Regions from separate parts of the Homo sapiens genome. Here all the other regions are linked to region 3. The links are contacts of gene promoters, found by promoter capture Hi-C in blood cells and fetal thymus (Javierre and others, 2016). All regions are on one chromosome and are shown on one strand. Each heading gives the region's core, a stretch centred on a gene start or on the middle of the fragment in contact. The rest is flanking DNA. Distances are from core to core; before and after follow the strand shown. Region 1 overlaps SREBF2 (sterol regulatory element binding transcription factor 2). Region 2 overlaps SREBF2 (sterol regulatory element binding transcription factor 2). Region 3 holds the start of MEI1 (meiotic double-stranded break formation protein 1).

Evidence for each region. Contacts are between HindIII fragments. The CHiCAGO score rates a contact against its expected background, and 5 or more counts as called.
Region 1: a contact is called between a fragment that was not itself captured here and the fragment with the promoter of MEI1 in region 3, in 1 of 17 cell types (megakaryocytes). The highest score is 6.3, in megakaryocytes.
Region 2: a contact is called between a fragment that was not itself captured here and the fragment with the promoter of MEI1 in region 3, in 1 of 17 cell types (total B cells). The highest score is 6.3, in total B cells.

Annotation. Positions count from the first base shown.
Region 1 is chr22:41,858,481-41,861,180 of GRCh38, reverse strand. The region is part of intron 1 of SREBF2 (sterol regulatory element binding transcription factor 2); the gene reads right to left. Among named protein-coding and RNA genes, the nearest start is that of SREBF2-AS1, 25 kb to the right of the region's middle. The HindIII fragment of the contact is 6,200 bases long and covers 1-2,700 here.
Region 2 is chr22:41,893,068-41,895,767 of GRCh38, reverse strand. It overlaps SREBF2 (sterol regulatory element binding transcription factor 2), which reads right to left. Exons shown (of 19, transcript NM_004599.4): 12 at 2,483-2,651; 13 at 831-948. Among named protein-coding and RNA genes, the nearest start is that of MIR33A, 6.5 kb to the left of the region's middle. The HindIII fragment of the contact is 7,044 bases long and covers 1-2,700 here.
Region 3 is chr22:41,698,145-41,700,844 of GRCh38, reverse strand. MEI1 (meiotic double-stranded break formation protein 1) reads right to left here and starts at 1,342. Exons shown (of 31, transcript NM_152513.4): 1 at 1,133-1,342. The coding sequence starts at 1,306. RefSeq lists a silencer at 1,270-1,369. The HindIII fragment of the contact is 5,602 bases long and covers 1-2,148 here.

The sequences.
Region 1 (2,700 bases), core at 70-2,569, 160 kb before region 3:
TGCCCTTCCAGATTTCTTCCTCTACAAGGCTTGCTTGCACACTTAAGCATGCACATGCATGCAAATTGTTTTACAAAAATGAGATCACACTGAACATGCTACTTTGCACCCTGTTCCCTTTGGTTAATAAATATGAAGAACATTCAGTGTCAACCATTACAGACGTAACATCATCCTTTTCAGAGTCCCACGGTATCATTCTGTGTGCCATTGTACTGTACCAGTGTATTAAAATTTGTTTAACTTAATGATGAAAAATTGCTTTAAATTTTTCAGCCTTATCTTTTTTTTTTATTTTTTTGAGACAGGGTCTTGCTCTCTTGCCCAGGCTGGAAGGCAGTGGTGGGGCTCAATGCAGCCTCTACCTCCTGTGCTTAAGCAATCCTCCCACCTCAGACTCCTGAGTAGCTGGGACTACAAGCATGCATCACCAAACCTGGCTAACTTTAAAGAAATCTTTTTTTTGTGGAGACAGAGTCTCCCTATGTTGTCTAAGCTGGTCTCAAACTCCTGGGCTCAAGCGATCCTCTTGACTTGGCCTCCCAAAGTGCTGGGATTACAGGCGTGTGCCACCACACCCAGCAAGTTATTCGGCATTATTAACAACTCTTTTGTTCCCCCACTTCTCTATTTTCTTAGGATAAATTCCTAGAAGTTAGATGGCTGGGTCAAAGGACCACTATACATGCTTTGGAAAGGTTTCAAAAATCTATGCTCCTGCTAGTGTTTCCTCACAGCCATTTCTGTCAATCTGATAGTGGAAAAAACCAACATGGAATTGTTTTGTCTTGCATGACTGAGTACTAACTGAGGCTGAAAGTCTTTTTTTTTTCTAAAGTCCCAATTTTATTGAGCATTTGCATTTCTTCCTTTGTAAACCGCCTGCTCTTGACCTTCGTCCATTTTTGCTATCAGGCTATTTTGTCTTTTTTTTTTTTTCACTGATTTAAAAAACTTCCAGATATTATAGATACTTATTCTTCTTAAATGTCTGCAAGTACTTCCCCCACTTTGTTATTTCTCTTTTAATATGTTCAGAAAAAAAGAATGACATAGCAATTAAGAATCACCATGTCGGCCTGGCGCGGTGGCTCACACCTGTAATCCCAGCACTTTGGGAGGCCGAGGCGGGCGGATCATGAGGTCAGGAGATCGAGACCATCCTGGCTAACACGGTGAAACCCCGTCTCTACTAAAAATATAAAAAATTAGCTGGGCGTGGTGGCGGGCGCCTGTAGTCCCAGCTACTTGGGCGGTTGAGGCAGGAGAATGGCGAGAACCTGGGAGGCGGAGCTTGCACCGAGATTGCGCCACTGCACTCCAGCCTGGGTGACAGAGCGAGACTCCGTCTCAAAAAAAAAAAAAAAAAAAAAAAAAAAAAGAATCACCATATCCTAGCCTTGGAACCTGGGGCAAGTTTTACCTCTTTCAGCTGCAGTTTTTCTCAACTGTACATTGTGGCTAACAATTACAGCTAACTCACGGATTGATGAGATAACTCATGTGGAATCTATGGCACCATGCCTGGCACTTAGTATTAGCTAGTACACATTATTCATAGTGGGTTTTTTTTTTTTGACACTTTTGCTTTAACTCTTACTTTGAAAATGTGAATTTGTTCAAATGCATCAGATACATCCAGAAACAATCTGAGCATAATATAAATTTTGCATTTGCTTATGCATGAGAAAAACACTAGGAAGTGCAGAAAACCATATTCGGCTGAAATGAGCCATGCAGGAATGCACAAAATGTGCACACACATACACAGGCACCTTAAACATCTACCAGCTTCATCAGGTCACTGCATGTGTTATGAATCACATTCATCACATTGATGTCAGAACTTTCCATTGGACTTCAGACAGCCCTCCTTCCACCACTTCCTGATAACTCCCAAGCTGTAACCTAATGACACTTACTTCCCACAAGCAAACCTCAGGTGTTTTTCAAGCCAAAGTGCCTTTTCATTGTGGTATTTATATATTTCTTAGTTTTTCTGGTCTATAAAACTGTGTGACTGTTTTATTAGGTCCCCCCACTTTTTTTTTTTTTTTTGAGACGGAGTCTTGCTCTGTCGCCCAGGCTGGAGTGCAGTGGCGGGATCTCGGCTCACTGCAACCTCCACCTCCTGGGTTCAAGCACTTCTCCTGCCTCAGCCTCCTGAGTAGCTGGGATTACAGGCGCCCGCCACCACGCCCAGTAGAGACGGGGTTTCACCATGTTGGTCAGGCTGGTCTCGAACCCCTGACCTCGTGATCCACCCGCCTCAGCCTTCCAAAGTGCTGGGATTACAGGTGTGAGCCACTGTGCCCGGCAGGTCCCTATCTTTTTTAAAAAATAAATCTTTTCCTTTTTTTGGTCACCTATGAGATTTTTTATTGTTGTGATCCTTAACCCTCCATTTCACAGTAAGTTCTGGGTTTCTGTTTTAGAGACAGGGTCTTACTCTGTCACCCAGGCTGGAGTGCAGTGATGTGATCATAGCTCACTGTGGCCTCTACCTCCTGGGCTTAAGGGATCCTCCACTGCAGCCTCTTGGGTAGCTGGGAGTACAGGCACACACCACCATGTCCAGATAATTTTTATTTTTTATTTGTAAGAGAGACTGGGTCTTGCTTTGTTGCCCAGGCTGGTCTTGAACTCCCTGCCTCATGCGATCCTCCCACCTTAGCCTCCTGATTACAAGCATGAGCCAAC
Region 2 (2,700 bases), core at 61-2,560, 190 kb before region 3:
TTGGTAAAGGGATACATAAAAATGGGTGCACCTGCCAGGCGTGGTGGCTCATGCCTGTAATCCCAGCACTTTGGGAGGCCGAGGCAGGCGGATTGCCCGAGATCAGGAGTTCAAGACCAGCCTGAATGACATGGTGAAACCTCATCTCTACTAAAAGTACAAAAATTAGCCAGGCATGGTGGTGGGCGCCTGTAATCCCAGCTACTTGGGAGGCTAAGGCAGAAGAATCACTTGAACCCGGGAGGCAGAGGTTGCAGTGAGCTGAGACTGGTCCATTGCACTCCAGCCTGGGCAACAAGAGCGAAACTCCATCTCAAAAAAAAAAAAAAAAAAAAAGGCCTGGGCATGGTGGCTCACGCCTGTAATCCCAGCACTTTGGGAGGCTGAGGCAGGCGGATCACGAGGTCGAGACCATCCTGGCTAACATGGTGAAACCTCGTCTCTACTAAAAATACAAAAAATTAGCCGGGCATGGTGGCAGGCGCCTGTAGTCCCAGCTACTCAGGAGGCTGACACAGAAGAATGGCGTGAACCCAGGAGGCAGAGCTTGCAGTGTGCCAAGATTGCGCCACTGCACTCCAACCTGAGTGACAGAGCGAGACTCCGTCTCCAAAAAAAAAAAAAAAACGCACTTGGTCTAGGAGGAAAGGCCAGGTCAGAGTTAACATAGGGCTCTCATTTTTGAGAAATTAAATACAAAGGAACCATTTGATTGCCCTGCCAACCCGATGCCAGGCTTGTTTCCCTCCAGGAGTGCAGGCCTTCAGGCTGTCCTGGAGTTGCCTGCGTGGACAGGTCCTAAGGCAGGGGGACTGGTCTGGGGACTTTACCAGCTCTCTTCTTCCTGGTCTCCAGCCTTCTTCTTGGCCTGAGGTTTCACCAAGGACTCTATAGCTCGCTCCAGCAGGTTCTTGCAGAAGGCCTGGTGGACCTGCGCAATGGGGTCAGCTGGAAAAGAGACAGGCAAGGGGGGTTAAATGGAGCTCATTTATGAGCCCACTTTGTCTTTACGGAGAGAAACTCCAAACACAGCCATGCCTTGTGAATGGGGATCAGATGCCCCTTCTCCACCAAAGCCCAGAACTACTGTGCTAAACAGTTGGAGGATGGGGGAGAGTGTTCACTCCCAGCCTGAAGAGCTCAAGACTAGTTCTGGATGAGCTCCGGTGGGGAGGGGGTGTGGGGGAGGGTGCTGTGTCTCCTGGCACAGTGCTCAGTACTCTAAGGTTGGGAGCTGTCAGGTGGAGTTGGATCAGAAAACAGAAAATGGAATGTCTCAGAGGATTTCTCTTCTCCATGTGGCTAAGGAGAACCACCAGGCAAGGAAAAAAAGGTGGTAGCTGCTGCCACGCTCATGACAACGAAGAACATGCTCCGGTTTTTCCAGAGCCTTGTCATGGAACGTGCCATCAGCAGTGACCTGTCTGAACTGGCTAGACACGGGGCCTTGCAATGCTTGGATAGCTGACTGTCACCAGCAAGTTTCTTTACTGGCAGGCCTCAAATCACCAGCCCCTTCTCTCTCCTCACATGTGGCAGATATGTGGGCCTCGATCTAATGACCAGGAGGAGGGACACTTATGAACACATTCCAAGTAACAAGGCCTGGAGCCAGAGACTGCCAGAGATGACAAAGCCACTGAGAAGTCCATGTTTAGCCAGCAGGGGTGGGGTAGAAAGATTTAGGATTGCTTTTGCTTTCATCCTTTATATTTTGGTGTTGCACACAATTCTCACGTTGAGCAATACAGTTATTATTTAAAAAAGAAAAGGACAGTGAACTCCCCCAATGTGTGACACACACCCCTATACCTGTAGAACCTTACTCTCCCCACAGACTCCAATTCTGAGAGGGGAGGAAAAGTACAGCAGAAAGCAGACAGCCACTGAGCACTCAAGGTCTAAGTCAATCCTGACCAGCCTCTACTGCTCCAAGGCCGGGCGAGTCAACTCCAATCACTATCAAATGCCAGGGACAGAAAGCCAGCACCTCCTTCCAATGCCTGAAGCCTCGTCCCTGTCACCACTCTGAGCAGTTGATGACTGCCTGCCACCTATTGTTCCCAAACTCTCCATTTATGTCTGTCTGCTCTCCCAATGGGAGAGACCTGGAGGCCAGGGAAAGCAAGCCTCACACATCCTTTGTGTCTCCAAAGTGCCCAAAACAAGGGCTAAGAGTACCCTTGGAGCTTAATCACAATTTATTGCTGTGTGATGTAAGGACCATGGGCTCTGAATGTTAGAGAGAGCAGAGCTGCACACCCAGCTTAGCCACTGACAATTTCTGATCAGGCTTGTGACCTTAAGCAAGTTACTCAACCTCCCTGAGCTTTGGTTCAAACAAACAAACAAACAAACAAACAAACGGACTCAACAAGATTAAGAGACAACCCGTGTCTCCGCGTGTCTGGTGCAGTGACTCTGTAGTACCGGCGGTTTGCATGGCTTTCTCCAATTCTGAATGGCTCCAAGGTATTCTCACCTGGGTTCCTCTGGGCACAGTATAGACTCTCCTTGGCAGCTGACTTCACAGACCAGCTCCGCTCCATGAAAAACTTCTGGCCCAGGGGGTGGCAGAGCCAGCGCAGGGAGTCAGGAACAGCACTGTGCTCGGGGCCACACAGGCTCTGGGCTCGGCTGAGGAAGTAGCTCTGTGGAAGGACAAGGACCAGGGGTAACACCAAGGTGGCAGAATGCTGG
Region 3 (2,700 bases), core at 93-2,592:
GAATTGCTTGAGACTAGGAGTTCAAGACCAGCCTGGGCAACACAGGGAGACCCCCGGGACCGTTTCTACAAAAAAAAAAAAAAAAAAAAAAAAAATTGAGAACTGCTGATCTAGCCAATCCACCCACTCACGAATTCCCCTCCCATGAATTGGAGAGAAACTTGACCTCCCAAAGTCTTCTTGGATGCCTCCATGGACAAGAAAACTCACTGCAGGTCGGGCACCGTGGCTCACGCCTATAATCCCAGCACTATGGGAAGCCGAGGCGGGTGGATCACCTGAGGTCAAGAGTTCGAGACCAGCCTGGCCAACATGATGAAACTCCGTCTCTACTAAAAATAGAGAAATTAGCCGAGCGTGGTGGCGGGAGCCTGTAATCCCAGCTACTGGGTAGGTTGAGGCAGGAGAATCGCTTGAACCCAGGAAACAGAGGTTGCAGTGAGCGGAGATGGCGCCATTGCACTCCGGCCTGGGTGTCAGAGCGAGACTCCGTCTCGAAACAAACAAAACCACTTCATTGCAAACGCGGTAGGCAATGAGGACCCAGGCAGCCCGCTTTGGCCAGCTCTGCCCAAGGAACAGTCTTCCCGTTCACCCCCACTTCTGCCCGGCTGTAACCTGTCACTCCTGTCCCCTCGGAGCCCAGACTGCCCCTCCTCCGATTCACACCCCGACAGCTGAAGGGAATGAGGAGCGGCCGCCGCATGCGCCCCTGGCCCGCAGGTGAGTGGAGGCTGAAATGGCGGGAGGCTGAAATGGCGGGAGCCTGAGCTAAGGCCGAATCCCCGGGAAATGGAGGCAGGGGCAGCAAAGGGAAGGAGCCAGAAGGCGGAAGGCGGGAAGGTGTGTCCCTGAGACTGGGTGAGGTCCCGGGGGATCCGGATTTCCGTCCTTTCAGGCGCAGAGCCAGTGGACCGGGCTCCACGGAGGCCCGCAGGCCGGCCTGGGGCTGAGGGGCCCGAGAGGCCGCTGCGGCCGGGTCCGGGACGGGCTGACAGGGAGGAGAGTGAACACAGCGCGGGGGCCCGGTTTCGCGTCGGGTTCACCGGAGCGGGTCTGGCAAGGGCCTGGCCGCGTTTGCTGAGGGAAATGGCCAAACCCAGGTCTTCTGAAGAAAAGGTTCCGCCCGCACCGACACGCCGGGGTCCGGCAGCAGCTCCAGCGCGCAGGCCAGGCACAGGCGGGGGGTCACGGGCAGCAGCCAGCGCGGGTCGTGCCGGTAATGGGCCCTCTCGAATAGAAGCGCCGCCTCTTCCTCTCTCCTGGGCCCGGGAGTGCCCGCCGTCGCCGCCTGCCTCACAGCCATCTCCTCGCTTGCCCTCAGCTGAGGCGGCACTCTTTCCCGCGCAGACTGCACGCATGCGCACTTGGAGGACGGACCTGCGTCGGTGTGGAATGCGCCTGCGCGGACCCAGGGCGCTGCAGTCTCAGACGAGCAGCAGCCACTGAGGGCAAGTGGTGGACGCAAGTGCTCTGGATCGTGTCTAGCTAAGCCAAAAGCGGTTTGTGCTTAGAACCCTGCAGGAATGTCTTTACCACATCCAAAGTTGAAAAGCAATTATAAAGTAGGGGGCATTTGCCTTGAAAAAGGAAGGAAAGGAAGCTATTTCTACTGTTTTTTAAAAATGAAGGCCGGGCATGGTGGCTCACGCCTGTAATCCCAGCACTTTGGGAAGCCGAGGTGGGCGGATCACGAGATCTGGAGATCAAGACCATCTTACCCAACATGGTGAAACCCCGTCTCTACTAAAATACAAAAAATTAGCTGGGTGTGGTGGCAAGTGCCTGTAATCCCAGCTACTTGGGAGGCTTGAGGCAGGGGAATCACTTGAACCTGGGAGGCGGAGGTTGCAGTGAGCTGAGATTGTGCCACTGCACTCCAGCCTGGCGACAGAGCAAGACTCTATCTCAAAAAAAAAAAAAAAAAGGAAAATAAGCGATCCCAAGGATTCGCATCTAAAAGCAATTAGAGGCTGGGTGAGTTGGCTCATGCCTGTAATCACAGCACTTTGGGAGGGAGGCTGAGGCAGGAGAATCACTTGAACCTGGGAGGTGGAGGTTGCAGTGAGCCAAGATCGCACCACTGCACTCCAGCCTGGGTGACAGAGGAAGACTCCATCTTAAAAATAAATAAATAAATCAGAAGCTTAAGACCAAAAAATAAAAGTAAAAAAACAAAACAAAACACCAAAGACAGAGAGAAAGAAGTTCAAGACCAGCCTGAGCAACAGGGCGAAACCCCTCCTCTACTAAAAATACAAAAATTAGCTGGGTGTGGTGGCTCATGACTGTAATCCCAGCTACTCGGGAGGCTGAGGCAGCAGAATCGCTTGAACCCAGGAGGCGGAGGTTACAGTGAGCGGAGATCAAGCCACTGAACTCCAGCTTGGGCCACAGACCTACACTCCATCTCAAAAAAAAAAAAAAAAGCGTCCCATGCAGAGGACCACCCCTCCCCATAAGCAGCTGAGGCTTTTGGAGTGTCCTGCCTCAATCAGGATTAGCTTGGAGACAGAGCAGGATAGAACCTCAGTGGACTCCACTGTGAGGAGCTGGGGGGCAGGTGTTTCGGAGAGGACACTGGGTTGACCCACATTCCCTAAACCACAACCACAGAGTGGAAGGGGCTTCTACCCCACCCACAAAGTATCCCAAACCCCGAAAGGGGGCACTTGGAAAATGTGCCAGAGAAATCAGAAC